4 separate regions of the Homo sapiens genome follow, and all the other regions are linked to region 2. Evidence: promoter capture Hi-C in human tissues and cell types (Jung and others, 2019). All regions are on one chromosome and are shown on one strand. The core of a region is centred on a gene start or on the middle of the fragment in contact, and the rest is flanking DNA. Distances in the headings are between cores, read along the strand shown.

Region 1 (6,781 bases), core at 1,646-4,145, 370 kb before region 2:
CAGTTGAAACTAACCAGGCCTGGCGTGGTGGCTCACGCCTGTAATCCCAGCACTTTGGGAGGCCAGGCAGGTAAATCTCTTGAGACCAGGAGTTTTGAGACCAGCCTGGCCAACATGGCAAAACCCTGTCTCTACAAAAAATACAAAAATTAGCCAGGCGTGGTCGTGGGCACCTGTAGGCCCAGCTACTTGGGAGGCTGAGGCAGAGAATCACTTGAACCCAGGAGATGTAGGTTGCGGTGAGTCAAGATGACACCACTGCACACTCCAGCCTGGGCAACAGAGCAAAACTCTGTCTCAAAAAACAAGCAAACAAAAAACACAGGTAGCAAGAGAAATGAGAACAGCACGGAATACTCCAAGTAGAGGGAATAGTATACTCAGGAGTTTGGAAAGTGAGACAGAACACAGTATATTTTAAGATTTCAGACTGGGTATGGTGGCTCACACCTGTAATCCCAGCACTTTGATTGGCTGAGGCAGAAGGATCACTTGAAGCCAGGAGTTTGGAGACCAGCCTGGGCCACATAACAAGACCTCGTCTTTACCAAAAAAAAAAAAAAAAAAAAGATTTTGAAAAGATATAATTTTTTTGGGGGGGGGGTTCATTAAAAGCTGTTATTCAGTGATTACATATATATGTGTATGATCTCCAAATTATCATTTATTTCATAGCACTATCTCTTTTCATTATTTATTTTCTTAGCCCTTCAGTAATGAGAATGGTTCTATCTGTGAAGTGTGACATTTGGTCTTCAGTTTAGACAGATATAGAACGATTAATGTATCATTGAAAATAGCTCTTCAGTGGCATGCCAATTTCTGGGCCTTCTGCATTTTTCTTCTATCTTGTCACCTGTTTTACCTTCTTTTTATCCTTTAAATTTAATATCATTTCCTTGTAGACAAGTGTAGGTGTTCCTGCTGTGTCCTTTTATAGCATTATACCTACCTTATCAAAGCAGTTATCATTACCATACTCTGCTATAGCTAGTTTAATTATTGATCTGTTAGACTGTAAATTACATGTGGACAGAGATTTTATTTTGCTTACCATTGTATTTCTAGCCCAGTGTTCATTACATGTTTATAGCCATAAGTTAATGAAGAATTTATTGCTATTTTTGTTAAGATTTATAATGACAAATTTATCCAACTAGTAAATGGCTTTCAGTTTCTGAAGAATAAGCTTCTGAATAGAAATACAAATCAATTTTTGCCTCCAAAGAGTTTTCCTTGAGGACCACTGCCTGGAACTTGCAGTAATCTAAAATTGAAATAGAAACAATTAGCCGGGCTTGGTGGTGGGTACCTGTAGTCCCAGCTACTTGGGAGGCTGAGGCAGGAGAATCACTTGAACCCTGGGAGGCAGAGGTTGCAGTGAGCTGAGATTATACCACTGCACTCCAGCCTGGGTAACAGAGTGAGACTCTGTCTTAAAAAAAAAAAGAAAAAGAAAAAAAGGAAAAGAAATAAATGTTACCCTTTTGATCCTTTTAATTGCCTGCTTAAATGATAGCTCTCTGTTGGACTGTCTTGATCCAAGAATAGAGAGATCATAAGTCAGTAAGAGATGAACTTCAAGTATAATGACATGTTTTTCTCCTGTGAAAACAGATAAAGTTAATAAAGTTGGTGAGATCCATGTGAAGACATTAGAAGAAATTCTTCTTGAAAGAGCCAGTCAGAAACGTGGAGAATTGCAAACTAAACTCAAGACAGAAGGACCTTCAAAAACTGATGATTCTACTTCAGGAGCAAGAAGCTCCTCCACTATCCGTATCAAAACCTTCTCTGAGGTCCTGGCTGAAAAAAAACATCGGCAGCAGGAAGCAGAGAGACAAAAAAGCAAAAAGGATACAACTTGCATCAAGCTAAAGATTGATAGTGAAATTAAAAAAACAGTAGTTTTGCCACCCATTGTTGCCAGCAGAGGACAATCAGAGGAGCCTGCAGGTAAAACAAAGTCTATGCAGGAGGTGCACATCAAGACGCTGGAAGAAATTAAACTGGAGAAGGCACTGAGGGTGCAGCAGAGCTCTGAGAGCAGCACCAGCTCCCCGTCTCAACACGAGGCCACTCCAGGGGCAAGGCGGCTGCTGCGAATCACCAAAAGAACAGGTAACAAGAGAACTTGGTCTCTAGTACCACGTCCCCACATAATATTCCAGAGGAGTGTTCCGTGGGATCTTCCTAGGAGTTGTTTGACAACCTTTCTTTACTCAGATAACGTTGAAAACACTGAATTAAATGAAGTTTTTCAGTAGTGCTATGTAGACCTATGCTATTTTGTTTTATTTTATTTTTGAGACAGAGTCTCACTCTGTCACCCAGGCTGCAGTGCAGTGGCATGACCTTGGCTCACTGTAGCCTCCACCTCCTAGGTTCAAGTGATTCTCCTGCCTCAGCCTCCCAAGTAGCTGGGGCTACAGACATGTGCCACCACACCCCGCTAATTTTTGTATTTTTAATAGAGATGGGGTTTCAGCATGTTGGCCAGGCTGGTCTCAAACTCCTCACCTCAAGTGTGATCTGCTTGCTTCAGTCTCCCAAAGTGCTGGGGTTACAGGTGTGAGCCACCATGCCCGGCCAACCTTTGCTATTTTAATGTGTATTTTGAGACTTTAGGAGCACAGATGGGCTTTATCTGTAATTTTATTTGTCCTGTCTTACTACTTTCATTAAATAAAGTTTTGTTTAACATATCTATCATGAAGTTGCAGCTTAAATAAAATAACTAATGATGTCTTTAATGTGAATACAGGGATGAAAGAAGAGAAGAACCTTCAGGAAGGAAATGAAGTTGATTCTCAGAGCAGTATTAGAACAGAAGCTAAAGAGGTAAATTTAAGATTATTGTATGGTTTTGTTCATGGCAAACAAAGGCTAGATAATTGGTAGTTTTACCTTACAATAAATTTCTAAGTACTTCATTCATATATTAGGTAAACAGTCTTTCTTTTTACTTATAATTTCTTATGAGAATTTCCTGTAGTTCTATGTATATCAGTATTCGCTGCCCTTTTAAAGTTTTTTGTTTGCCGGGCGCGGTGGCTCACGCCTGTAATCCCAGCACTTTGGGAGGCTGAGGCGGGCGGATCACGAGGTCAGGAGATTGAGACCGTCCTGGCTAACACGGTGAAACCCCGTCTCTACTAAAAATACAAAAAATAAAGTTTTTTGTTTAATTGGCCATTACTTTTTTTTAACTGAGTTTTTTCTAATGCTATGCATCATACAAAAGTTGGAAATTTTATTTTTTTTAAAACTGAACAAACCCTAAAAATATACAGCTCAGATGTAACCATCATTATCTTTTCCATGGATTTCTTCGAGCTTTTTCAGTCTTGCTCTGTTGCCCAGGCTGGAGTGCAGTGGCATGATCTCGGTTCACTGCAACCTTTGCCTCCTGGGTTCAAGCGATTCTTGTGCCTCAGCCTCCCATGTAGCTGGGATCAAAGGCATGCACCACCAAGCCTGACTAATTTTTGTATTTTTAGTAGAGACAGAGTTTCTCCATGTTGTCCAGAGTGGTCTCGAACTTCTGGCTTCAAGTGATCTGCCTGCCTTGGCCTCCCAACGTGTTGGGATTACATGTGTGAGCCACCACACTTGGCCTTCTTCGACCTTTTTGTTTATATATGCATGCATGTGAATTTGTTTAATGTTAAACCCATGTTTAGAACATAATGGAGAACTCTACAGTGTATCATTTTACAGCCTGCTTTAACTTTACCATGTTAATAATTCTTCAAGAAGTTTGTTTTTACTGACCACATGATTCTCCATTATACAAATACAGTCTTTTTCTGGACATTCAGATTTTGTTTTACACAATTTAAAGTAATATATTTGTACATAAATCTTTGTGCAGGTATTTGATTATTTAGGAATCATTAGTATTTGACTTAGAGTCATGGTTGTCTAGCCTGTGGAATCTGGGTTTTTTATTATTCCATACATCTGTAATTCTAATCTTTCATCTTTAACAGGGTATTGTCTATTTAACATCAAATAAAGAGCTTTTCTCTCAGATTCTGGATCATGTGAGATTCTGCTTAACTTAGATGTTAGCCTGGTACTTACATCATACAGGTTATTAGAGGTACCAGATTTTAATTCTGTCATTCAAATTTATCCACAGGCTTCAGGTGAGACCACAGGAGTTGACATCACTAAAATTCAAGTCAAGAGATGTGAGACCATGAGAGAGAAGCACATGCAGAAACAGCAGGAGAGGGAAAAATCAGTCTTGACACCTCTTCGGGGAGATGTAGCCTCTTGCAATACCCAAGTGGCAGAGAAACCAGTGCTCACTGCTGTGCCAGGAATCACACGGCACCTGACCAAGCGGCTTCCCACAAAGTCATCCCAGAAGGTGGAGGTAGAAACCTCAGGGATTGGAGACTCATTATTGAATGTGAAATGTGCAGCACAGACCTTGGAAAAAAGGGGTAAAGGCAAGTATTTCTATACTGTGTATTGCTTTAGGTTATCAAAATTACCAAATTCAACCCAATTGTTGCCAGTAACTTCCTGGCAACAATTGGGTTGAATTTCATTTGCCTTCTATCCACAGGTAGATAGTAATATTTCTGATATTTTTATACAGAGGCAAAACGAGATGAATTCTTTTCTCAGAATTTAAAATTGCTATTTAAAAAGCTTTGTGTAAAACTTTCTATGGTGCATCTTTCCTCTGGTATTGAATAAAAACAAGGAATAGAGGAATGGTAACAAATTTAAGTGGTATTGTATCTACATGGTGACCACCTGTAGTGACCACCATGTGACCACAAATTGCCTTTGAATCGTTTTCAGTCTCTTTTTAAATGAATTATTTGTGGTATTTCTAGTACTGAAGGAGTTTTGATATTTTATTCTGAATTATTCCCCATTTAAAAGAGTCTATTCTCACTGCTTATCAGATATTTTCTGCCCTTTGTAGCTAAACCCAAAGTGAACGTGAAGCCATCTGTGGTTAAAGTTGTGTCATCCCCCAAATTGGCCCCAAAACGTAAGGCAGTGGAGATGCACGCTGCTGTCATTGCCGCTGTGAAGCCACTCAGCTCCAGCAGTGTCCTACAGGAACCCCCAGCCAAAAAGGCAGCTGTGGTAAGAAGTATATTCACTTTGTGGTGCTTTATTCTGTGTGGTAGGAAAGCAGGAAAGACTAACTCTCCACTAGCATTCTATCTTGAGTATATCACTTCCTGGCATTTCCTAGCATTTTAGTAATTTGGGTTACTACTGTATTTTATACTTACAGTTTGATATTTGTGAAGTAGCAGGACAGGATTTTTTAAAAGCTAATTTTTAGGTGGCAAGATATTTTGCTTATTTATATACTCAACCTTTAGATTATCGATTCTTAGATTCACAGGCTTAAAGAATCATAGCCACAATTCTAAGAAGGCAGCAAAAGAAAATGAATATGCTCAAATTAAAAAGCCTGACTCTCACTGAATTACCTGACTCTTCCTTTTGTAGGCTGTTGTCCCGCTTGTCTCTGAGGACAAATCAGTCACTGTGCCTGAAGCAGAAAATCCTAGAGACAGGTAATACTTTGTAATTCTTTCTAAACAAACTCCAGGCCCCTGTTACTGTTTAGGCTCTCTAGAGAATAACACTGATAAATAACTTTAGCAACATTCAAATAAATCTGTTGCACTTCAAATTAATTGCAAGAAAGTATGAAAATCTAGGGTTGCTGTTCTTCTTTGGTGCCATTGTTTACATTTTGCTATATTACCTAAAAGATGTTTTTTTGTTTTTTTGTTTGAGGCAGCGTCTCACTGTGTCACCCAGACTGGAGTGCAGTGGCACAATCTCTGCTCACTGCAACCTCCACTTCCCGGGTTCAAGCAATTCTCCTGCCTCAGCTTCCCAAGTAGCTGGGATTACAGGTGCCTGCCACAAGGCCTAGCTAATTTTTGTATTTTTAGTAGTGACAGGGTTTTGCCACATTGTCCAGGGTGGTCTCAAACTCCTGACGTCAAGTGATCCACCTTCCTCGTCTTCCCAAAGTGCTGGGATTACAGGCATGAGCTACCATGCCCGGCCCCTGAAAGATGTCTTTAACACCTACTTTGAGTTATAAAAATGCTTGGTGCTGGCCAGGCAAGGCGGCTTATGCCTGTAATCCCAACATTTTGGGAGACTGGGGCTGGAGAATCACTTGAGCTCAGGAGTTCAAGACCAGCCTGGACAACATAGTGAGGTCTTGTCTCTAATAAAAATCAAAGAAATAAAAAAAAAATCACATGGTGACACACACCTGTAGACCCAGCTACTTGGGAGGCGGAGGCAAAATGATCGCTTGAGCCCAGGAGGTCGAGGCTGCAGTGAGCCATGATTGTACCACTACACTCCAGCCTGGGTGACAAAGGGAGACTCTGCCTCAAAAAAAAAAAAAAAAAAAAAAAAAAAGCTTGATCCCAAATCAGTAAAAGAATTATTTCTTTATGTATGTTCTTAAAAACAAATTTTTGCTCACTTTGTGTCCGTGAGACTAGGTGATTCAGCCAACTATTTTTAAAACGGCAGTTTTCTAATAATCTTTTTTTTCTTACAGTCTTGTGCTGCCTCCAACCCAGTCCTCTTCAGATTCCTCACCCCCGGAGGTGTCTGGCCCTTCCTCATCCCAAATGAGCATGAAAACTCGCCGACTCAGCTCTGCCTCAACAGGAAAGCCCCCACTCTCTGTGGAGGATGATTTTGAGAAACTAATATGGGAGATTTCAGGAGGCAAATTGGAAGCTGAGATTGACCTGGATCCTGG
Region 2 (7,181 bases), core at 48-2,547:
CACAGTCTATTCTCAACCCAGCACCCAGAATGATCTTTTAAACATAGAAATAGAACATATCACACCATAGCACAAAACCAAGGTCATTACCATGGTCTATAAGTCTCCAGTGTCCTGACCCCTCAGTGACATCCCTGACCTAAACTCCTATGATTCTCCCCTCACCTCACTTTGCTCCAGGTATACCCACCTCCTTGTTGTTCTTCAAACACACCAAGTATGCTAATGCCTCAGGGCCTTTGCACTGCCTGTCCCTGCTTCCTGAACATTTCCCCTCCAGAGAGCTGCGTGGCTTTGCTTCCTCACTTCCTATAGATCTCTGAAAAAAGATCTGAATAAAGGCTCACCTTCTCAGTGAGGCTTCCCTGACCACTCTATATAAAATAGCGACCCCTCCTACCTCGAACTCCATAGCCTCCTCTTGTTTTATTTTCATCTGGAGGACTTATCATCTTCTGATATACTATATACTTCTTTCTGTTAATTACCTGTCTCCCCTCTCTAGAATGTAAGCAGGGAGTCAGTTTCATTTAATGTTGGACACTCTATATCCAACACAGTGCTTGGCACACAGCAGAGACAAATCTGTTGAGTGAACAAAAGAATGTTGTCACCAATTCTCAGATGAAAAACCAAGGCTCAGAGGCTTTAAGTAACTCACCCAAATGAAGCCCACAGAGCCACGGTTCTTCCCATGGCCCCAGACTTGTTCCAAGACCTCCTCCCTACCTCTTCCCCCAAAAGAAGGGGAAGGATGTTTAGGAGTGAGGGTATGGTGGTTTGGTCAGGGGAGTGGAGTTTAGTTTTTTATAAGAAGCCCCCAGGGCCACAGGAGACCTTGATGGTGTGGGGAAAGATGTCTGAATGGGCAGAGGCCTCCTGAGTCCACCTTTGTGGCAACCCAGTTCTAAGAACCCGGGATGGGAAAGGGGTCAGTGTGAATGGGGAACCTGCCAGGCCCCCTGGGCACCAGCCTCTAGCTACCTGTGGGCCCTGAGCAACTCCCACCCGCTGGAGGGTAGGGAGCCACACCCCACCCTGCCTGCTGCCCCAGGGTGCCAGCACAGCATCTCCCAGCCCCTGGCTCCAGAGGTCACGCTTGTAGTGACAGAGAGCCCAGCTGGGAGAGAGAGCCAGCCGGCAGGGAGCCTGGCCTGGATAGCCCATTGCAGCCCCGCTCATCCCACTTACTCTGCCATTCGGTGATGGAGATCATGCCGCACTCAGCCTGGGGGGCTTTCCGGGTGGAAGCGGGCAAGTGGAGCGTGGCCCAGAGGACGCAGCTGGTACATGGTCACGGGAAGCTGACCCTTGGTTAAGTTGCGAAATGAGCCTGTGGCAAATCATTAACTCTCCCTCCAGCCCCCGCTCCACCCCCGCACACCACGCAGGTGCTTCTACTCGCCAGCTCCCTCCTCCCGTTTTCCGGTAGGGCAATGCCCCGCCCCTCCACCTGCCGCGCCTGCCCGGGGAAGGCACCGCCCACCTGACCCTTTCCTCGCACCTCGCGGTGTTCTGCGGCTCTCGTCTGCTCCGCGAAACTTAGATTGTATGTGGAAGCATTGGAATCTAGGGGGTGCTCAAGTTTCTTGCTTGGTTTGATAGTGTGGGAAGAGTTGGCATCTGCGCATCCCTTTGGGAATGTACTAAATTCATCTTGAAAGTCAAGCTTTTTGCTCTCTGCTATTGCACATGCTAGGCGCTGGGAGGCGATGAGCGACTGAGCACAAAGCCTGTTGTTGACCTAATGGCAGAGCCAGATCGGGTTAAATCAATGGCAAAAGCGCCATGGGGGAAGTTAGACGTGAAGGTCTTCGACCTCCTTTCCCCAAGCGGCGTCCAAGCTTTGGACTGACTGTGATGTTGAGCTATGGAAGACAAAGCCCTGAATTTGGGGTTGGGGCAGGACTGCACAATTTAGGAGGCCTGGTTCTAGTCTACCCACCAGCTGTGTAGACATGGATTCGTCCTTTGGGCCTGCAAAAAGAGAGGCAGTTAGTTCCTAACATCCTTTTTTCCCATCGCAGAGCAGTGGTTCTGACGTGGCATTGATGCCAGGAGAGCCAACATCCACTTTGCAATGTCTTCTGTGTCCAGAAATGAAGAAATGAATTTCAAAGACTACCTATATACATCATTTAAAAATGCAAATAGGCCTGGCATACAAAATGCATTATGTCTGTAATCCCAGCATTTTGGGAGGCCAAGGCAGGAGGATTGCTTGAGCCCAGGAGTTTGAGACCAGCCTGAGCAACATAGTGAGACCTTGTCTCTACAATAATAAAAATAAAAAATTAGCCGGATGTGGTGGTACCTGCCTGTAGTCCCAGCTACTGGGGAGGCTAAGGTAGGAGGATTGCTTGAGCCCAGAAGGTCGAGGCTGCGATGAGCTGTGATCAAGCCATGCACTCCAGCCTGGGTAGCAGAGCGAGATCCTGTCTCAAAAAAAAACAAACCAAACAACAACAACAAAACCAAGGAAAGCTAACATAATTTTTTAAAAAGAAACAAAAAGATAAATTATAATAAAACATGATGTCTTTCAATATATAAATGTTCAGGCAAGACTTACCAGAAGACATAAATGAAATAGGCAGATTGCTTGCACCCACACATAATATATGTTTGAATTTAAGAGAAATAGAAGATGAGCCATTCTATGCAAAAACAAAAATCACACACATGCAAGAAAATGAAAGAGTAGCAGGAAGTGAACATAGAATAAAAACTGTTAGATAAGGAATAACAGACCAGACGTACTTGCATATGATGAGAGGGAAAGCATCTTAATTGAAATAGGGATAACATAGCAAGGCAAATTAGAGAGCACAAGGTGGAGATAATATAGAAGTATGATGTGCATGCAAAGGAACTCAGTCTTAGGTATGTGTGTATTGTCAAAATAGCTCCCATGGAATGGGGTCGCCATAGAGTACCACAGACACATCAACCTCTGTCTTGAAACATATCAGCGTTGAGGTAAAATTCAGTCTCTGGGATCTTAAAAGGCCTTAGAGATCACATATTTCCAATGGGCAATGGGGGATAGAGGATGGATTGGGAAAAGAAAAGAAGATAAAAGTGGTTTAGAGCAATTGCATGTGGACACCCGGGACAGTGTTGTAAAGACAGGACACAACATTTCCACACATAATTATGACAACATAGCATCCTTGGGCTCCAAAAAAACTAAACATATAAAGGATGGCAATAATATGAAATAAACCCTAAAAACTTTTATTAAGGAAACTCAGTGAGATCTTCTGCATCTCAAGTGTCTCTGATTCCATGTTTGCTTCTCTCACATATCCTCTGTTAAATATTTTCAGTCAATTTCTTCGTTTATTCAGTATCACCTACTGATCAGAACTGTTTTCAATCAAATACATAGTAGCTGAAATCTTATAATCCTTTGTGTAGACAATGCATGGAGTAGATTATTCAATAATTTTAAGACAATGTCTTTATTCCTTTTAAGCTTCTGCTCCATAATAACCATCTCCTAACTTTCTGAGTGTTCATGAAATTTATTTTTAAAAGCTTACAAAACCTTTTGGTATTACTGTCAATTGAAGTATGACCAACTTTTACTGGTAGTGGGTTTAGTTCAGTTGTACATTCGAAAGTAGTACAGGATATGGGACAATTCTTTGTTTTGGAAATCTGTCCTGTGCATTGCAGTCTCGAAATGCCAGCAAGAGTTTTGCACCCTTATGATTGAGACAACCAAATGCCCCTAGGGGCCAGAATCATCCCTGTTGAAATCACTCGTAGGTTAAGAGCTTCATCCTGGCTTCGTGAAGCCTTGGGCATTTTATTTATCCTTTCTGTGCCTCAGCTTCTTGGATAATTATAGTACCTATGACTGACATAGAGGATGAGGATTCATGAGTAAATGCATGTGAAGTGCATAGAACCAGGTACCTGGCACATAGTAAGCACTTAATGAACCACTGTTATTCCTGTTACTGTATAGTTATAATAATTACTATTGTTATTAATGTTATTATTAGTATACTGTTAATATGCTTTATATGAAAGACTTCTACTGTCATCTCAAATTGTGGTGCTAAACCACTCCCGCAGGTGTATAAAATAGCAACTGGGGATGCCCCTTCCTGCCCCCACCCCCAGCCATGGAACCCACCTGTGAGCTCAGGAGAATTAAACGCTCATGATACTGGGCCCTCCGGGCCTGATTCTCTGGGTACTGGAGCTAAGCCCAGAGGCGCTGTCCACAACTCATCCTTCTGGAGAGGGACCTTCATAGGGACAACGCCGGGAAGGCTGGTGCTAGTCCTCGACCCATGGCAGTCTCATGACCCTGCCATGATGAGAAAAGTGTGGGGTAGTGCAGTTACTCCCTGGGCTGGAGGCATAGAAGTGGCAGGGGAGGGACACCTCAGGGATGGCACGGGCCCTGGTGATGTCTTCCAGCAAAGGCTGTAGAGCTAGTAAAGGAGGGGTCCTGGAAAACCTTCTCCCTCTTCCCACATCAGGCCCCTGCAGGTGGCCAGGGAGCCTTTGCAACATCACCACTTCCACTTCCTCACATTTGGAAGTGAATTTGAGTTTTCAAAGTGATTTTCATCCATTTTCTCATTTGTCTTTCTTGAAAGTTCCATAAGATGGTGGTTAATATACCCATTTTCCAGATGAGGGAACTGAGACTCAAGAATTTAATGACTTGTCCAAATCTTCATGCAGCTAGCAAGGAGCATGTTGCTAGGGGCAGGAGTTGAGGATGACATGCCACCTTCTCTCATTGGTCTCAGTAACGAGGTGAGGCTCGGGATGAGGAGGGGGACGTGGCGTGGCCCCAGTTCCCTGGCAGCAGCAGGGTCTGAGGCTTGGCTGCCTGCCTGACCCTGTCGTGCCTGTCTTCAAGAATAAATAAGTGATCATGCAGTTACACAGCTCTGCTCCTTAAAGGACATTCTGCTATTGCATTTTCATTTACATTTCTCAGCTACTACCCCCTTTTTACAAATCCCAACCTGGCTTGATCTGGTAGGGGATGGAGCAGGCACCAGCTGGCATCATCTCTTGAGAGGAGGAGGCAGCCCTTGTCGGTGGATGCAGTGATGCCCGGTGGTACTCTGTGGTCTCACATTCCACCTCCTCCCCAAGCCCTTGCCACTGGCTCTGGCTCAGATGGAGCCTGAAGATAAAGGCTCAGCCCCCCAGAAAGTGACGAGTTCTCCAATATGCATCCCCCTACCCCAGCCTCTGATGCAGGCCCTCCCCCAGAGCCTACATCTGGTCACAACTCTCCCGGGTTCACAAAGGACATCATCCTGGGGATGTGACAAAATCCAAAATAGAGTCGAATCTTAAAAATGACCTCCCCCGTACTAGCCCTTAGAAATGGGAACAGGTGTCCAGAATTCAGCTTCAGCCATGAAAGCCAAGCCGATGCAAGATCAGGAATTAGAGGAAGCTTGCTTTCTCATCTCTCCTTCTCGCTTTTTCTTGAGCCATCCCTCCCTCGGACAACATGCAGAAGCCCCGCTGAGCCTGCCAGTCTCCCGGGCGCACCTCTTCTCTTCCACTACCCACCCCACAAAATTTACCAGGCTTCTTGACTCTTGGTCCCCACAGTAAGATTCCAAATTGAGAAGCACTGGTAAAGCCCTTCACACAGAGTGTCAATACCTGATAACCACAAAACACCTGCCAAGAGAAATAAACCAAAGGGATGGAGGCAGAATGAGAACTGGGGTGGTCTCATACCTCCCACCAAATTATACAACTTCTTGTAAAGCAGCAATATAGCGCATTGTGTAGTAATCAAGAAAGGCTGGGAATTCATTCTCTTCTCCTGCTGTCCTGTCCTTTGTATGAGTCAAACCAAGGGAAGGTGCCAGGGCCTGAAGCATCTGATACTGCCATTATACAGAACCTTGGGGCAAACCCTGATCTGGGGTCACCTGAACTGAAATGATGATGCTGGTGTTGGTAGCATACCCTCGCTTCCCCAGCTCCTGGGGATGGAGGCCAAAAAGTGCAGGCTGAGGCACAGGGGAGGAAGGAGCACATGTTTTACACCCAGCCTACCTCCCAGCCCCCATTCCCCTTTCCTGCCAACCCCACAAGCTGCCAACCCCACAACCCCACAAGCACCACAAGGGCAGACACCGAGTAGGAGACACACACCACATATACAAACCATTCATTTTATTTCCTGTATTGGGTTTATACAAACTTGCAAGATACAAATGCAGAACTCACTGGGATTCTTCAGTACCTAAATCTAAAAAGAATGCTGCTGAAAGGGGGAAGCAAACTCTCACCTGTTTCAGTCAGGCCATCCCTCCTCCTGGGGAGGGGGCTCATTGGCTAGAAAGATGCTAAGGGGATGCTACAGCTGTTTGTCCCCTGACAGAGATTCCATCTATCTAACCTTCACCCTTCTTCTAAGGCCACTTTTATGCTAAATAAAGACACTGAGATAATAAATTTCCTTGTACAGTTTATTGTCTAATACTAGCAAATCAAATTGGCCCCAATATGTGCATAAATAGATATACGTGTGTGTGTGTGTGTGTGTGTATATATATATATATATATAATGTGTGTGTATATCATATTTTTTCTTAGTTTTAAGAGCTGCCAGGTAGAGGGTGCCTAAAGGGGAAAGGAATTGGTTCCCTCTTGCCGTAGCCAGCCCTGCCCAAGAACATGCCTCTCCCAAAGGCCGGAGAGCAAGTGTGCCACTTGTGCCCTTAGAAAATCTTCAAAGTGACAGTAGCAGTATTTGACTGCAGCCTCTTGGTTATTGATCATGGAGGTAATGTGCTCATTGAGAAGGCCCTGGATGAATAATCAGAGCTTCCCCAGGTGGGTCACTTAGCTCTGGACCCCCATCTGGGCTCTGTTCATTCAGAGCAGGATGTTCTAGGCTGGCGACAGGGTGTCAGTAAATGCCCCAGGTGGGAGGCCAGGCTTCAAACGCTGGCCAGGAGCTCTGCTCTAGATTCCCAAGCCCTTGATTTCAGACCTAGACAAAGACTTCCATCCTGCCCAAATCCTTGCAAGGCCAGAGACCCTTTCCCCACTTTGATGGTTGACAAAGGCTAAGCAGCTTGGAAGGCTGAGCTGGCTTAGTTCGGTGCCCCAGTGGCAGCCTGCTGGGGTAAAGTCCCGGGGGTTTCTTGGGTGAGGTTGAGATGCCACCTTGT
Region 3 (7,113 bases), core at 2,972-5,471, 400 kb before region 2:
TAATTTTTTAATTTAGTGTAGAAACTAGGTCTCATTATGTTGCCCAGGCTGGTCTTGAACTCCTGGGTTCAAGCAGTCCTCCTGTCTCGGCCTCTCAAAGTGCTGGCATTACGGATGTGAGCCACCATGCCTGGCCTGTTTTGTTTTTTTTCTACTTTTATTGAGTACTTTTTTGTAAGTTCTTTTTCTTAAGTTAGAATATTTTCTTGAGTATTTTTCAAAAGTATAAGTACATAGGTGATATACTTTTTGAGAATTTTTGTATCTAAAAACTTCTAAGTTCTGAGCTATTTGTGAAATGTAGTTTGAAATTCTAAACTTAAAGGTCATAATCTCCTTTACATTCTGGATGAATAGCATTTTGTCTTTTGGCATTTAGAGATTCAGATGAGAAGTCTAATAATGTCAAGTCTGATTTTCTTTCCTTTGTTGTCAATCTGATTTTTCCTGAAAGTTTGTATGATTTTGTCTTTACCATTGGAATTCAAAAATTTTACCATGTCTGTGTATAGCAGAGATGTCTTTAAAGAAAAGTTCTGCCTGGCATTTGATGATCCCCTTTAATGTAAAGACTCAAGTCCATCAAATTTAAGGAAATGTTCTTATATTGTTTCTTTCATAATCTCTACAAATTCCATTCCTTTTTAGGATTTCTATTTATAGAAATTGAGTTTTCTGGAATTATTTTCATTTCATATACAATTTCCCTCTTAGTGACATATGTTGGCATTTTTGGTTTGGATTCGTGGAGATGTCGTGTCAGTAATCTCTTGTAATTCAGTTATTATGTTTTTCATCAGTGTTTATTCTGTTCTTTCCTCTACTGAAATCTATTTTTGAAGGTAGGGGCTGGAAATTAGAGTCTTCATCTTCGTCGTCGTCATCGCCATCTTCTTCTTTTTTTTCTTCATTATTATCATTATTTTATATATTTATTTTCTTGAGAAGGCGTTTTTCTGTTGTTGCCCAGGATGGAGTGCAATGGCACAATCTTGGCTCACTGCAACCTCCACCTCCCGGGTTCAGGTGATTCTCCTGCCTCAGCCTCCCAAGTAGCTGGGATTACAGGCATTCGCCACCACGCCCAGCTAATTTTGTATTTTTAGTAGAGACAGGATTTCACCATGTTGGTCAAGCTGGTCTCGAACTCCTGACCTCAGGTGATCCACCTGTCTCGGCCTCCCAAAGTGCTAGGATTACAGGCATGAGCCACCACACCCAGCCTGAGTTTTCTTATTATTTTTGAAGCTTTGTTTTCTTCTCACTGTTTTTTTTTTTTTTTTTTTTTGAGATGGAGTCTTGCTTTGTCTCCCAGGCTGGAGTGCAGTGGCATGATCTTGGCTCACTGCAACCTCCGCCTCCAGGGTTCAAGCGATTCTTCTGCCTCAGCCTCCCGAGTAACTGGGACAACAGGCGCACACTACCGTGCCCGGCTAATTTTTTATATTTTTAGTAGAGGCGGTGTTTCACCATATTGGCCAGGCTGGTCTCAAACTCCTGACCTCGTGATCCGCCCATCTCCGAAATCCCAGGTTGCTGGGATTACAGGCCTGAGCCACCGCACCCAGCCCCACTCTTTTTTCATAGTGGTATGTTCATTTGTAGCAATGCTATATCCTTTAAAACTTGCTGAGAGCATGAAGATTTTAAAATAATATGTCCTTTTTCCTACATTAACTTCTAGAGAGTGGGTTGAGAAAGGTCCCATTATTTTTCTTGGCTTCATATTTTCAAACGGTTATTTTCTGTTGAAAAGTAACCAGGTTAACCGGGTGCGGTGGCTCACGGCTGTAATCCTAGCACTTTGTGAGGCTGAGATGGGCAGATCACTTGAGGTCAGGAGTTCGAGACCAATCTGGCCAACATGGTGAAACCCCGTCTCTACTAAAAATACAAAAATTAGCCAGGCATGGTGGCAGGCGCCTGTAATTCCAGCTACTCGGGAGGGTGAGGCAGGAGAATTGCTTGAACCCAGGAGGTGGAGGTTGCAGTAAGTCAAGATCACGCAACTGCACTCCAGGTTTGGGCAACAGAGCGAGACTCTCTCAAAAATAACAAAACTAAACAAAAAAAAGTAACTGGGTTTTTCTTGGCAACCTAGATACTTTTTTTTTCCTTTTAAACTTAAGAAATTTATGGATGTGCATCTTTGTTTTGTGTTTTTGCATGGGATAGTATTGATTATAAAGTCATTGGAGCATCATTTAAAAGCTGGAGTGGTGTTTTTTTTGTTTTTGTTTTTTGTTTTTTTTTTAAGAGATGAGGTCTGTCTGTTGCCCAGGCTGTTCTTGAACTCCTGGTCTCAAGTGATCCTCTTGCCTTGGTCTCTCAAAGTGTTAGGATTATAGGCATGAGCCACTGCACCTGGCCTTGCCGTTTTCTTGAATGGCAATTATATTTGTTTTTATCCTAGTGAAAGTTACAGAAGCTTAGTGTATAAAGATGATATATAAAGAAACTTTTCTTTTTTTCTTTATCTCTTATTTCCTTTTTCTTGTTTTACATTGTAGCTGTTAGGTTTTTTTTTTTTTTGAGACAGAGTCTCACTCTGTCGCCCAGGCTAGAGTGCAGTGGCGCGATCTCAGCTCACTGCAACCTGCACCTCTGGGGTTCACACCATTCTCCTGCCTCAGCCTCCAGAGTAGCTGGGACCACAGGCGCCCACCACCACGCCCAGCTAATTTTTTGTATTTTTAGTAGAGATGGGGTTTCACAGTGTCAGCCAGGATGGTCTCGATCTCCTGACCTCGTGATCCACCCGCCTCGGACTCCCAAAATGCTGGGAATACAGGCGTGAGCCACCGCGCCCGGCCAGCTCTTAGATCTGACGAAGGAGTTTTTTCTGTTGAAACATTAGTAAGGGAGTGTTATCTACTCAGGATTCCATTTCTCCACACTCTGCCCAACTTTGAGGGCTCTTTGCAGAAAATGATTTGAAAATTAGTTGTGGGCCAGACGCTCACGCCTGTAATCCCAGCACTTTGAGAGGTTGAGGCGGGCAGATGACCTGAGGTCAGGAGTTTCACACCAGCCTGGCCACTATGGTGAAACTCCATCTCTACTAAAAATACAAAAAAAAAAAAAAATTAGCAGGGTATGGTGGTAGGCGCCTGTAATCCCAGTTACTTGGGAGGCTGAGGCAAGAGAATCGCTTGAAACCAGAAGGTGGAGGTTGCAATGAGCCGAGATTGCGCCACTGCACTCCAGCAGCCTGGGTAGAAGAGTGAAACTCTGTCACAAAAAAAAAAAAAAAAAAGCCAAGTGTGGTGGTGGGCACCTGTAATTCCAGCTACTTGGGAGGCTGAGGCAGGCGACTCACTTGAACCCAGGAGGTGGAGGTTGCAGTCAGCTGAGGTCGTGCCATTGCACTTCAGCCTGGGCAACAAGAGCAAAACTCGAAACTCCGTCTCCAGATAAATAAATAAATAAAATTAGTTGCCAAAAAATTGTAAATTCTGCTGTGTCTTTGCATTTCATAGCTACCATTTCATTGTTTCAATTACTTTGTTGCTGGTCTTTCTAAAACCGGTAACAGTTTCAAATATGTTCTTTGGAATATTGATTTTGTGAGTGAGATTGACCTCTAAGCCTTTTATTCCCCTTAAAAACTTTTTTTTTCTGGAGGCAGAATCTTGCTCTGTTGCCTAGTCTGGAGTGCAGTGGCAAGATTGTGGCTCACTGCAACCTCTGCCCCCTGGATTCAAGCGATTCTTGTACATTAGCCTCCCGAGTAGCTGAGACTACAGTTGTGGGCTACCACGCCTGGCTAATTTTTTGTATTTTCAGTAGAGATGGGATTTTGCCATGTTGGCCAGGCTGGTCTTGAACTCTTGACCTCAAATGACTTTTTTTATTATTAAACTTTTTCCTTTGTTGCATATATGTCTGAAAAGTATTCAGATAGCTTTGTCTTTTTCTTTTTTTTTTTTTTTAGACAGGTCTCACTGTCACCCAGGCTGGAGTGCAGTAGTGTGATCTTGGTTCACTGCAACCTCCACCTCCTGTGTTCAAGTGATTCTCACACCTCAGCCTCCTGAGTAGCTGGGACTATAGATGTGTGCCACCATGCTTGGCTAATTTTTATATTTTTTGATAGAGACGAGGTTTCACCATGTTGGCCAGGCTGGTCTTGAACTACTGACCTCAAGTGATCCACCCACCTCGGCCTCCCAAAGTGCTGGGATTACATGTATGAGTCACCACACTGGGCCTTAACTTTCATTTTAAATTCAGGGGTACATGTGCAGGATGTGCAGGTTTGTTACACAGGTAAATGTGTGTCGTGGGGGTTTGTTGTACAGATTATTTCATCACCCAGGTATTAAGCCTAGTATCTATTAGTTGTTTTTCCTGATCCTCTCCCTCCTCCCACCTTCTACCTTCTGATAGGCTCCAGTGTTTGTTGTTCCCCTCTATGTGTCCAAGTGTTCTCAGCATTTAGCTCCCACTTATAAGTGAGAACATGCTGTATTTGGTTTCCTGTTTCTGCATTAGTTTGCTAAGGATAATAGCCTCTGGCTCCATTCATGTCCCTGCAAAGGACATGATTTTGTTCCTTTTTATTGGATGCATACTATTCCATGTTTTGTGTTTTTTTCAGACTTCTGTCTTGTTGCTTCCCATCCTCACCAGCATTTAGTGCTTTCAGTATTTTGGATTTTAGCCATTCTAAATTTTTTTTTTTTTTTTTTTTTGAGACGGAGTCTCACTCTGTTGCCCAGGCTGGAGTATAGTGGCATGATCTCGGCTCACTGCAGCCTCTGCCTCCTAGGTTCAAACGATTCTCCTGTTTTTGCCTCCTGAGTAGCTGGGATTACAGGTGTGTGCTACCACGGCCAGCTAATTTTTGTATTTTTAGTAGAGATGGGGTCTCACCATGTTTGCCAAGCTCGTCTTGAACTCCTGACCTCAGATGACCCACCTGCCTCGGCCTCCCAAAGTGCTGGGATTACAAGTGTGAGCCACTGTGCCCAAATGGATTTTAGCCATTAGAAAAGGAATTTGCAATCCCTAATGATGCATGATGTTGGGCAAGATTTCAAATGCTTATTTTCCATCTGTATACCTTCTTTGGTGAGGTACCTGTTCAGATCTTTTGCCTTTTTGAATTGGGGAGTTGTTTTCTTATTTTTGAGTTTCAAGAGTTATATATTTTGTATATCAGACCTTATCAGTTATGTTTTGCAAATATTTTCTCCCAGCCTGTGGCTTTTTCATTCTTTCTTAAGCTTCTTAACAGAGCTTTCACAGAGCAGACCTTTTTAATTTTAATGAACTCCAATTTAATGTTTTTTTGTTTTTTGTTTTTTGTTTTTTTTTGGATGGAGTTTTGCTCTTGTTGCCTAGGCTGGAGTGCAGTGGTGTGATCTCAGCTCACTGCAACCTCCGCCTCCCAGGTTCAAGCAATTCTCTTGCCTCAGCCTCCTCAGTAGCTGGGATCACAGGCATTCACCACCATGCCTGGCTAAATTTTAATGGTTTTTATTGAAAACCAATTTATTGGTTTTCTTTTGTATTTAAGTTGTTATCCATGTTATTTTTTGTGAAAAGTATAAAGTCTGTGTCTAAAATTATTTTTTTATATGTGGATATCCATTTGTTCCAGTAACATATGTTGAAAAGACTATCCTTTTCCCCTTTGTCAAAGGTCATTTGACTATGCTTGTTATCTGTATTAGTTCCTAGGACTTCCATAACAAAGTATCACAAACTGGGTAGCTACAGAAGTTTGTTGTCTCACAATTCTGAAGGTGAGATGTCTAAAATGTTTTCAGCAGGGCCATTCTCCCTCTGAAGCCTGTAGAGGAATGATCCTTACCCATTCTGGCTTCTGGTGTTTGTTGGCAATCCTTGGCATTCCTTGGTTTGTAGATGCATCACTCCAGCCACATGGTCATCTTCTCCTTGTGTGTCTTCTCATCACATTCCCTCTGTACATGTCTGTCTCTTTCATTTTAAGCTGGCAACATTTTTTGCTAAGATGGTTGCCTGAATCTAGTCACACACCTAATCTCCAACAAACTGTTGCCCACCCATACCCTTTTCTCTACAGAGCATACATTCTTGTTTTTTTTTTTTGCAATATGGATAGAGTGAGAATTTTCTAAATTTTCAAGTTCAGATTCTTTATTCCTTTTTGCTTCATAGTTCTTGCCTCAATATGTCTCTCTCCTTGCATTTCACTGTAAGCAGCAGGAAAAGCCCAGGCTGTTCCTTCCACACTTTGCTTAGAAATCTCCTCAGCTAAAACCCAAGTTCATTGCTTCCAGGTTCTGCCTTCTGCCCAACACAACCCAATTCTAAGTTCTCTGCCACTTTTTAACAGGAATAACCTTTCCGGCCAGGCGCTGGCTCACACCTGTAATCCCAGCACTTTGGGAGGCTGAGGTGGGAGGATCATCTGAGGTCAGAAGTTCAAGACCAGCCTGGCCAACATGGCGAAACCCTGTCTCTACTAAAAATACAAAAATTAGCCATATGTGGTGGTGCAAGCCTGTAATTCCAGCTACTTGGGAGACTGAGGCGGGAGAATTGCTTGAACCTGGGAGGCAGAGGTTGCAGTGAGCCAAGATGGCACCATTGCATTCCAGCCTGGGTGACAGAGCAAGACTCCATCTCAAAGAAAAAAAAAAGAATAACCTTTCCTCCAGTTTCCAATAACACGATCCTAATTTCTGACTGAAACCTCACCATAAGTACCTTAAGTACCTTTAACGTTCATATGCTTTAGCAGCAGTTTCTTCTAGGCCTTTTCTATCAAGTACCTCAAAAGTCTTCCAGCCTCCACCTATGACCCAATAACAAAGCTGCTTACATATTTTTAGATTTTTTTGTTTTTGGTTTTTTACAGCAGCATTCACTTTCTGGTATGAAACTCTAATGGCTGTATATTGTCACATTACATGAATATACCGTAATTTTTTTAAATCATTTGTTTATTTTTGAGATAGAGTCTCACTCTGTTGTCCAGGATGGAGTGCAGTGCATGATCTCGGCTCACTGCAACCTCCACCTCCCGGGTTCAAGAAGTTTCCCTACCTTAGGCTCCTGAGTAGCTGGGACTACAGGTGTGTGCCACCACACCTGGGTAATTTTTGTATTTTTAGTAGAGAT
Region 4 (6,585 bases), core at 3,584-6,083, 320 kb before region 2:
CCCAGCTAATTTTTTGTATTTTTAGTAGAGGAAGGATTTCACCATGTTGCCCAGGCTGGTCTCAAACTTCTGGGCTCAAGTGATTGCCCTGCCTTGGCCTCCCAAACTGTTGGGATTGCAGGCATGAGCCACTGTACCTGGCTGTTTTATATTTTTGATGCCACTGTAAATGGTACTGTTTTTATAATTTTGACTTCCAATTGTTTTTATTGACCTTGTATCCTATGACCTTACTAAACTCAGTTCTTTGTTGTAGTAGGTGTTTTTTTGTAGATTGCTTGGGATTTTCTTTTTTAAGTTGTCTATAAGGTATACAACACTGAAATAATTACTACAGTCAGGCAAATTAACCTGTCACCTTCCATAGTTACCTGTTTTTTTGTCTGGTAAGAGCACTTAAAATCTACGGTCTTAGCAAATTTTTCATATGTAATACAGTATTATTAACCGTTTTCCTCATGCTGCCCATTAGGTCTCTAGGCCTGCTCATCGTACACAACTGCCAGTTTTTGCCCTTTAATCTACCATTCCCCATTTCTCCCCTTCCCTGCCCCTGGTAACTGCTGTTCTCCTCTGTTTCTATGTACAGATGATCTCTAACTTACAATTTTTCAACTTTCGGATGGTGAGAAAATAATATACATTTAGTACACTCCTTGACTTACTATGGGGCTATAGCCAGATAAACCCATTGTAAGTTTAATATATAATAAGTAAAAAACAAAAGTTTCTTTTTTTTTTTCCAGATGGAGTCTCACTCTGTCACCCAGGCTGGAGTGCAGTGGTGCCATTGTGGCTCACTGCAACCTCTGCCTACCAGGTTCAAGCGATTCTCATGCCTCATCCTCTTGAGTAGTTGGGATTATAGGTACCTGCCACCATGCCCAGTTAATTTTTGTATTTTTTGTTTTAGTAGAGACAGGGTTTCACCATGTTGGCCACGCTGGTCTCAAACTCCTGACCTCAAGTGATCCACCTGTCTCGCCTCCCAAAGTGCTGGGATTACACGCATGAGCCACTACACCTGGCCTTATTTTCTTTTTTCTTTTTGAGATGGAGTCTTGCTCTTTCATGTAGGCTGGAGTGCAGTGGTGCGATCTTGGCTCACTGCAACCTCCACCTCCAGGGCTCAAGCGATTCTCCTGCCTCAACCTCCCAAGTAGCTGGGATTACAGCAGTGAGTCACTGTGCCCAGCCCTTATTTTCAATTTATGGTATTTTCAATTTAGAATGGCTTTATTAGGACATGACCCCTTCATAAGTCAAGGAGCATCTGTATTTGACTTTTTTAGAGAGTCTACATATAAAAGATTATGCAGTACATTTCTCTTTTTTTTTTCCTGAGACAAGAGTTTTGCTCTTGTTGCCCAGGCTGGAGTACAATGGCGAGATCTTGGCTTACTGCAAACTCTGCCTCCCGGGTTCAAGCGATTCTTCTGCCTCAGTCGCCCAAGTAGCTGGGATTACAGGCGCCTGCCACCAAGCCCAGCTAATTTTTTGTATTTTTAGTACAGACAGGGTTTCGCCATGTTGGCCAGGTTGATCTCGAACTCCTGACCTCAGGTGATCCGCCCACCTCGGCCTCCTAAAGTGCTGGGAGCACACAGTGAAAACGACATTTGCCTGTGCAATAGAAATTAAAATCCTTAGCATGACTTTCAATGTTTTCTATAATCTGCCTTCAACCTGCCCTTCACCCTTATCTCGCAGGACTACCCTATAAGAATACTCTGTATTCCAAACAGATACTCCAACTCCCTCCCCCTAAGTTTACCAATCTCCATGGTTTGTTTTTATGGCTTTAAATATGAATTCAATTACTTTAATAGATCTAGGACTATCCAGGTTATCTACTTCCATTTGAGTGAACTTTGAGAGTTGTGTTTTTATTCTATTGCTCCTTGCAGAGCAGAGGTACCCCATAGGCAGTGTGCCCAGAATAGCCCAGGGGAGCTGGAGTTGTGTTTTTTAAGGGATTTGTCCATTTCATCTAAGCTATTAAATTTATTGGCACAAAGTAGTTCACAATATTCCCTTATCCTTTTAATGCCTGTAGGATCTGTAGAGGTATCTTTACTTTCATTCTTCATCTATTCTGTTCTTTATTATTTCTATGTATCTCTTTATTTGGGTTTAATCTGATCTTTTTCTAGTTTCTTAAGGCAGAAGCTTTGGTTACTGATTGAAAACATGCCTTATTTTTTAAAAAAATTTTTATTATTTTTTTGAGATGGAATTTCGCTGTGTTGCCTAGGCTGAAGGGCAGTGGAGTGATCTCAGCTCACTGCAACCTCCCCTTCCCAGGTTCAAGTGATTCTCCTGCCTCAGCCTCCCAAGTAGGTGGGATTACAGGCGTGTACCACCAGAGCATGGAGCAGACATCGCATAAAAAATTTGGTTCCTCAAATTCAAGGTTTTTCTGCTCATAACACAACCCATTGCACGTGAGTATCATTTGGCCATCCTTGCATTGCCTTTGAGAATTAGGATTTGGGGAACTTGTAAGAAAATGCTGATATATTGGATATTGTCCTTGATAAGAGTAGTAAACTGTCCTCTGACTCACATTTCACATGTTTTCTACTAGCACCCATGAAACCATGCGGGGAGGGGGGCTTGCTTAGCCTGCAAGTAGGGTAAAACTAAGGATACTTAATGGTTCTTTACATCACCTTACTTGTTTTTTGTTTGTCCCATCCCCATCTCTTTTTTTCCTCAAAATTTTTGTTTTCCTTTGGATGATTTTTATGATTTCATTTTATATCTACTGTTAAACTTATTAGCTATACTCCATTTTTTAAAAGACTTTTACTTGATTACCTAGGGATTACAGTATACATCTTTCTTACTACAGTTTACTTTCAGTAGCTTTTTTTGTTTTGTTTTGTTTTTGTTTTTGTTTTTGAGATGGAGTTTTGCTTTTGTCGCCCAGGCTGGAGTGCAGTGGCACGATCCAACTCACTGCAACTTCTGCCTCCTGGGTTCAAACGATTCTCCTGCCTCAGCCTCTGGAGTAGCTGGGATTACAGGTGTCCACCACCATGCCCAGCTAATTTTTGTATTTTTGGTAGAGATGGGGTTTCACCATGTTGGCTAGGCTGGTCTTGAACTGCTGACCCCAGATGATACACCCACCTTGGCCTCCCAAAGTGTTGGGATTACAGGCATGAGCCACCGTGCCCAGTCTGCTTTCAGTAGTATTTTAACACTCCATGTATGCTATGAGACTCTTATACCTCCAATTCCTCCCTTCATTGTGCGTTTTTGTTGTTGTTGTTGTTGTTTGTTTAAGAGACAGGATCTTGCTCTGTCTCCTAGGCTGGAGTGCAATGGCACAATCATAGCTCAGTGCAGCCTTGAACTCCTGACTCAAGTGATCCTCCTGCCTTGGCCTCCCCTATAGCTAGGACTACAGGGATGCACCACCATGCCTAGCTAATTGTTTTGTTTTTTGGGTTTTTTTTTTTTTTTGCGTGTGTAGAGATAGGGTCTGTGTTTTCCAGGTTGGTCTCAATCTCCTGGGCTCAAGTGATCCTCCTGCCTCAGCCTCCCAAAGTATTGAGATTACAGGCATGAGCCACTGTGCCCAGCCCTCTTTGTACTCTTTTCGTCATACTTTTAGTTCTCAGTCCCATAATACATTGTTACTATCTTTGCTTTAGGCAGTTATTGAGATTCACATCATGTGCCTGAATATTGGGTTGGGAAGTCCCATATTTTCTCTTATGAATTTTAAAAATTTTATCAAAATTTTGGACTAGAAATAATTTTTTGGGTCATTCTTTTTGAAAAGGTGTATGGTTTTTTGCTAAGTGGATCTTTTCTTGGCTTCTAGTTGAGACCTTTCCACACATAACTTTCCCACCCACTCTTGAGGAAACCTGAAGCCTGATTCCATTTATGTATAGGATCCTTCTGAAGTCTTGGCTGGAGTTCAGTTTCAGGGAATTAGCAGCAGGAAAGGCTGGAGGGAAGGTCAGTGAGGGCATTTCATTTTCTTCTCTTATTGTTAATTTCCTTGAGACACCTAAAGAAAAGAAAAAGTACTTTCTACTCCAATCTTTCTACCTTGTTTTAACTCTAGGGTGTTTCTTTTTTTCCCCATTCCATTGTTAAGACAGGAATCAGGGTTTTTTACAATGTATCACCCATAATCATGCTTTCTACAATAGTCATTTCCTGTTGCCCTCTAAGCTTTGTTCATGGTATTCCATTGAGTTGACAAATCATAATTTATAATACATTTCTTTGTGAAGCTCAGCTTTTTCATTATTACAAATTATGCCACAGTAAACATCTTTGTGCATCTTTTATACCTCATGAAGTGTATTTCTATGAGCAGGTATCTATATTTTATAACAGCATTTTTATAGTTATTACGTATTATAAATAAGATTTAGAAAAAGAAGGACATTGGGAATGTATATACCCTGGGGGAAAAGGTCTTATGACTTTGCCTAGAGAAAAATAAATAGATTGAATTGATTATAGACTTGTTGGAGACAGGTTATTGAGAGGGAAATGTCAAAAATTTGGCTATGAATTTCAACTATGCTTTTTTCAGAGATTAGTATTTGAGGTTTAAATACCTCTTAACTGTTTTTTAAAATCAGTATGTTGAGTCCATTCCTGAGTTGAAATTTTGACATACTTCTTCCTGTTGTGAAATCTGCTTACAAAGATTTAGGCAATGTTTTAATATATATGTATGTGTGTGTGCTAGTGTGTTGTGTAGGAATAAAGCAAAATCACCACGGAAATGAGGTATTCTGTAACTCTTCATAAAGGACCTATGCCTATGCTGTTTAATATAGTTGTCACTAACCATAAGTGGCTATTGAGCACTTAAAATGTGCTAAGGCTAAGGAACGTACTTTTTGGTTTAGAAAACCTTTAAGTATGTTTGGAACAACTTGTGTACGACAGTCTACTTTTTAAACTAGACATTTGGCCAGGCACGGTGACTCACGGCTGTAACCCAGCACTTTGGGAGGCCGAGGGGGGTGGATCACCTGAAGTCAGGAGTTCCACATCAGCCTGGCCAACGTGGTAAAACCCCGTCTCTACTAAAAATACGAAATTAGCCAGGCGTTGTGGTTTATGCCTGTAATCCCAGCTACTCGGGAGGCTGAGGCAGCAGAATTGCTGCTCAGAATGAGCTGAGATCACACCATTGCACTCCAGCCTGGGCAACAAGAACAAAACTCCATGTCAACAAATATATCTATTTATATATGTTATATTATATTATATTATATTAGTATTATATTACATAATATATATTTATATATTATATGTATTTCTATTATATATTTATATGTTATATTATATATATATATATATATATATATTTTTTTTTTTTTTTTTTTTTTTTCCTGAGATGGAGTCTGGCTCTATCACCCAGGCTGGAGTGCAGTGGCATGATCTCGGCTTACTGCAACCTCCGCCTCTCGGGTTCAAGCGATTGTCCTGCCTCAGCCTCCCCAGTAGCTGGGATTACAGGCATGCGCCACCACACCCAGCTAATTTTGTATTTTTAGTAGAGACGGGGTTTCTCCACGTTGGTCAGGCTGGTCTCGAACTCCCGACCTCAAGTGATCTACCTGCCTCAGCCTCCCAAAGTGCTGGGATTACAGGCATGAGCCACCGCACCCAGCCAATAATAATTTTTATGTTTGTAACATTGAAATAGTTATATTTTAGATATAATGGATTACGTAAAACAAAATTAATTCCACCAATTACTTTTTTTTGATATTGCTTCTTTTTTGAGACAGGGTCTGGCTCTGTCAACCAGGCTGGAGTGCAGTGGCTTGATTTCAGCTCACTGGAACTTCTGCCTCCCAGGCTCAAGCCATCCTCCCACCTCAGCCTCCTGAGTAGCTGGGACTACAGGTGCATGCCACCATACCTGGCTAATTTTTGTATTTTTTTGTAGAAGTGGAGTCTCACTTTGTTGTCTAGTCTTGTCTCAAACTGCTGATTTCAAGTGATCTGCTGCTCACCTCGGCCTTCCAAAGTGCTGGGATTATAGGAGTAAGCCACCGAGCCTGGCCAATGTGGATATTAGGGAATTTAGAATTACATATGTGGCTTGTATTTCTGTTGGACGACACTGGCCTACATTGTAGGTGACATGAGTGAAGAAAACCACTGTTTTCACAGCTTCAAAATGTTGTGACTGGGCACAGTAGCTCTCGTGCCTGTAATCCTGGCACTTTGGGAAGCCAAAGTGGGAAGATCACTAAAGCTCAGGAGTTTGAGACCAGCCTGGGCAACATGGCAAAACTTTGTCTCTACAAAAAATACAAAAATTAGCCAGGCATGGTGGCACCGCCTGTAGTCCCAGCTACTAGGGAGACTGAGGCAGGAGGATTGCTTGAACCTGGGAGGTTGAGGACGCAGTGAGTTGTGATTGCATCACTGCACTTCACCCTGGGTGACAAAGTGAAACCCTGTCTCAAAAAAACAATAAATAAATAAAACATTGCAAACACAGACAACTCACTGTCTAAAGGAAGATCTGAGTTACTGAGACTAGAGTTTTCAATGTTTAGGTTGTAGAAAGGAGAACAAGGAATGCCA

The links. The method cuts DNA at HindIII sites, captures the fragments that hold promoters and counts their contacts. A contact is called where the count stands out against the background at its distance.
Region 1: a fragment that was not itself captured here is called in contact with the fragment with the promoter of GOLT1A in region 2 in 2 of the 25 tissues and cell types used here (IMR-90 fibroblasts and thymus).
Region 3: a fragment that was not itself captured here is called in contact with the fragment with the promoter of GOLT1A in region 2 in 2 of the 25 tissues and cell types used here (adrenal gland and hippocampus).
Region 4: a fragment that was not itself captured here is called in contact with the fragment with the promoter of GOLT1A in region 2 in 1 of the 25 tissues and cell types used here (bladder).

The regions. Positions count from the first base shown.
Region 1 is chr1:203,845,567-203,852,347 of GRCh38, forward strand. It overlaps ZBED6 (zinc finger BED-type containing 6), which reads left to right. Exons shown (of 17, transcript NM_001395895.1): 12 at 1,618-2,121; 13 at 2,765-2,841; 14 at 4,145-4,460; 15 at 4,949-5,115; 16 at 5,491-5,558; 17 at 6,575-6,781. ZC3H11A (zinc finger CCCH-type containing 11A) reads left to right here. Exons shown (of 18, transcript NM_001376342.1): 13 at 1,618-2,121; 14 at 2,765-2,841; 15 at 4,145-4,460; 16 at 4,949-5,115; 17 at 5,491-5,558; 18 at 6,575-6,781. Among named protein-coding and RNA genes, the nearest start is that of SNRPE, 13 kb to the right of the region's middle. The HindIII fragment of the contact is 5,303 bases long and covers 245-5,547 here.
Region 2 is chr1:204,212,691-204,219,871 of GRCh38, forward strand. GOLT1A (golgi transport 1A) reads right to left here and starts at 1,298. Exons shown (of 5, transcript NM_198447.2): 1 at 1,192-1,298. The coding sequence starts at 1,216. PLEKHA6 (pleckstrin homology domain containing A6) reads right to left here. Exons shown (of 23, transcript NM_014935.5): 23 at 6,163-7,181. RefSeq lists an enhancer at 1,169-1,825. The HindIII fragment of the contact is 10,240 bases long and covers 1-2,661 here.
Region 3 is chr1:203,807,906-203,815,018 of GRCh38, forward strand. All of the region lies in intron 1 of ZBED6 (zinc finger BED-type containing 6), which reads left to right. All of the region lies in intron 2 of ZC3H11A (zinc finger CCCH-type containing 11A), which reads left to right. Among named protein-coding and RNA genes, the nearest start is that of ZC3H11A, 16 kb to the left of the region's middle. The HindIII fragment of the contact is 4,767 bases long and covers 1,839-6,605 here.
Region 4 is chr1:203,884,949-203,891,533 of GRCh38, forward strand. No RefSeq gene overlaps it. Among named protein-coding and RNA genes, the nearest start is that of SNRPE, 27 kb to the left of the region's middle. RefSeq lists an enhancer at 3,337-4,536. The HindIII fragment of the contact is 3,305 bases long and covers 3,182-6,486 here.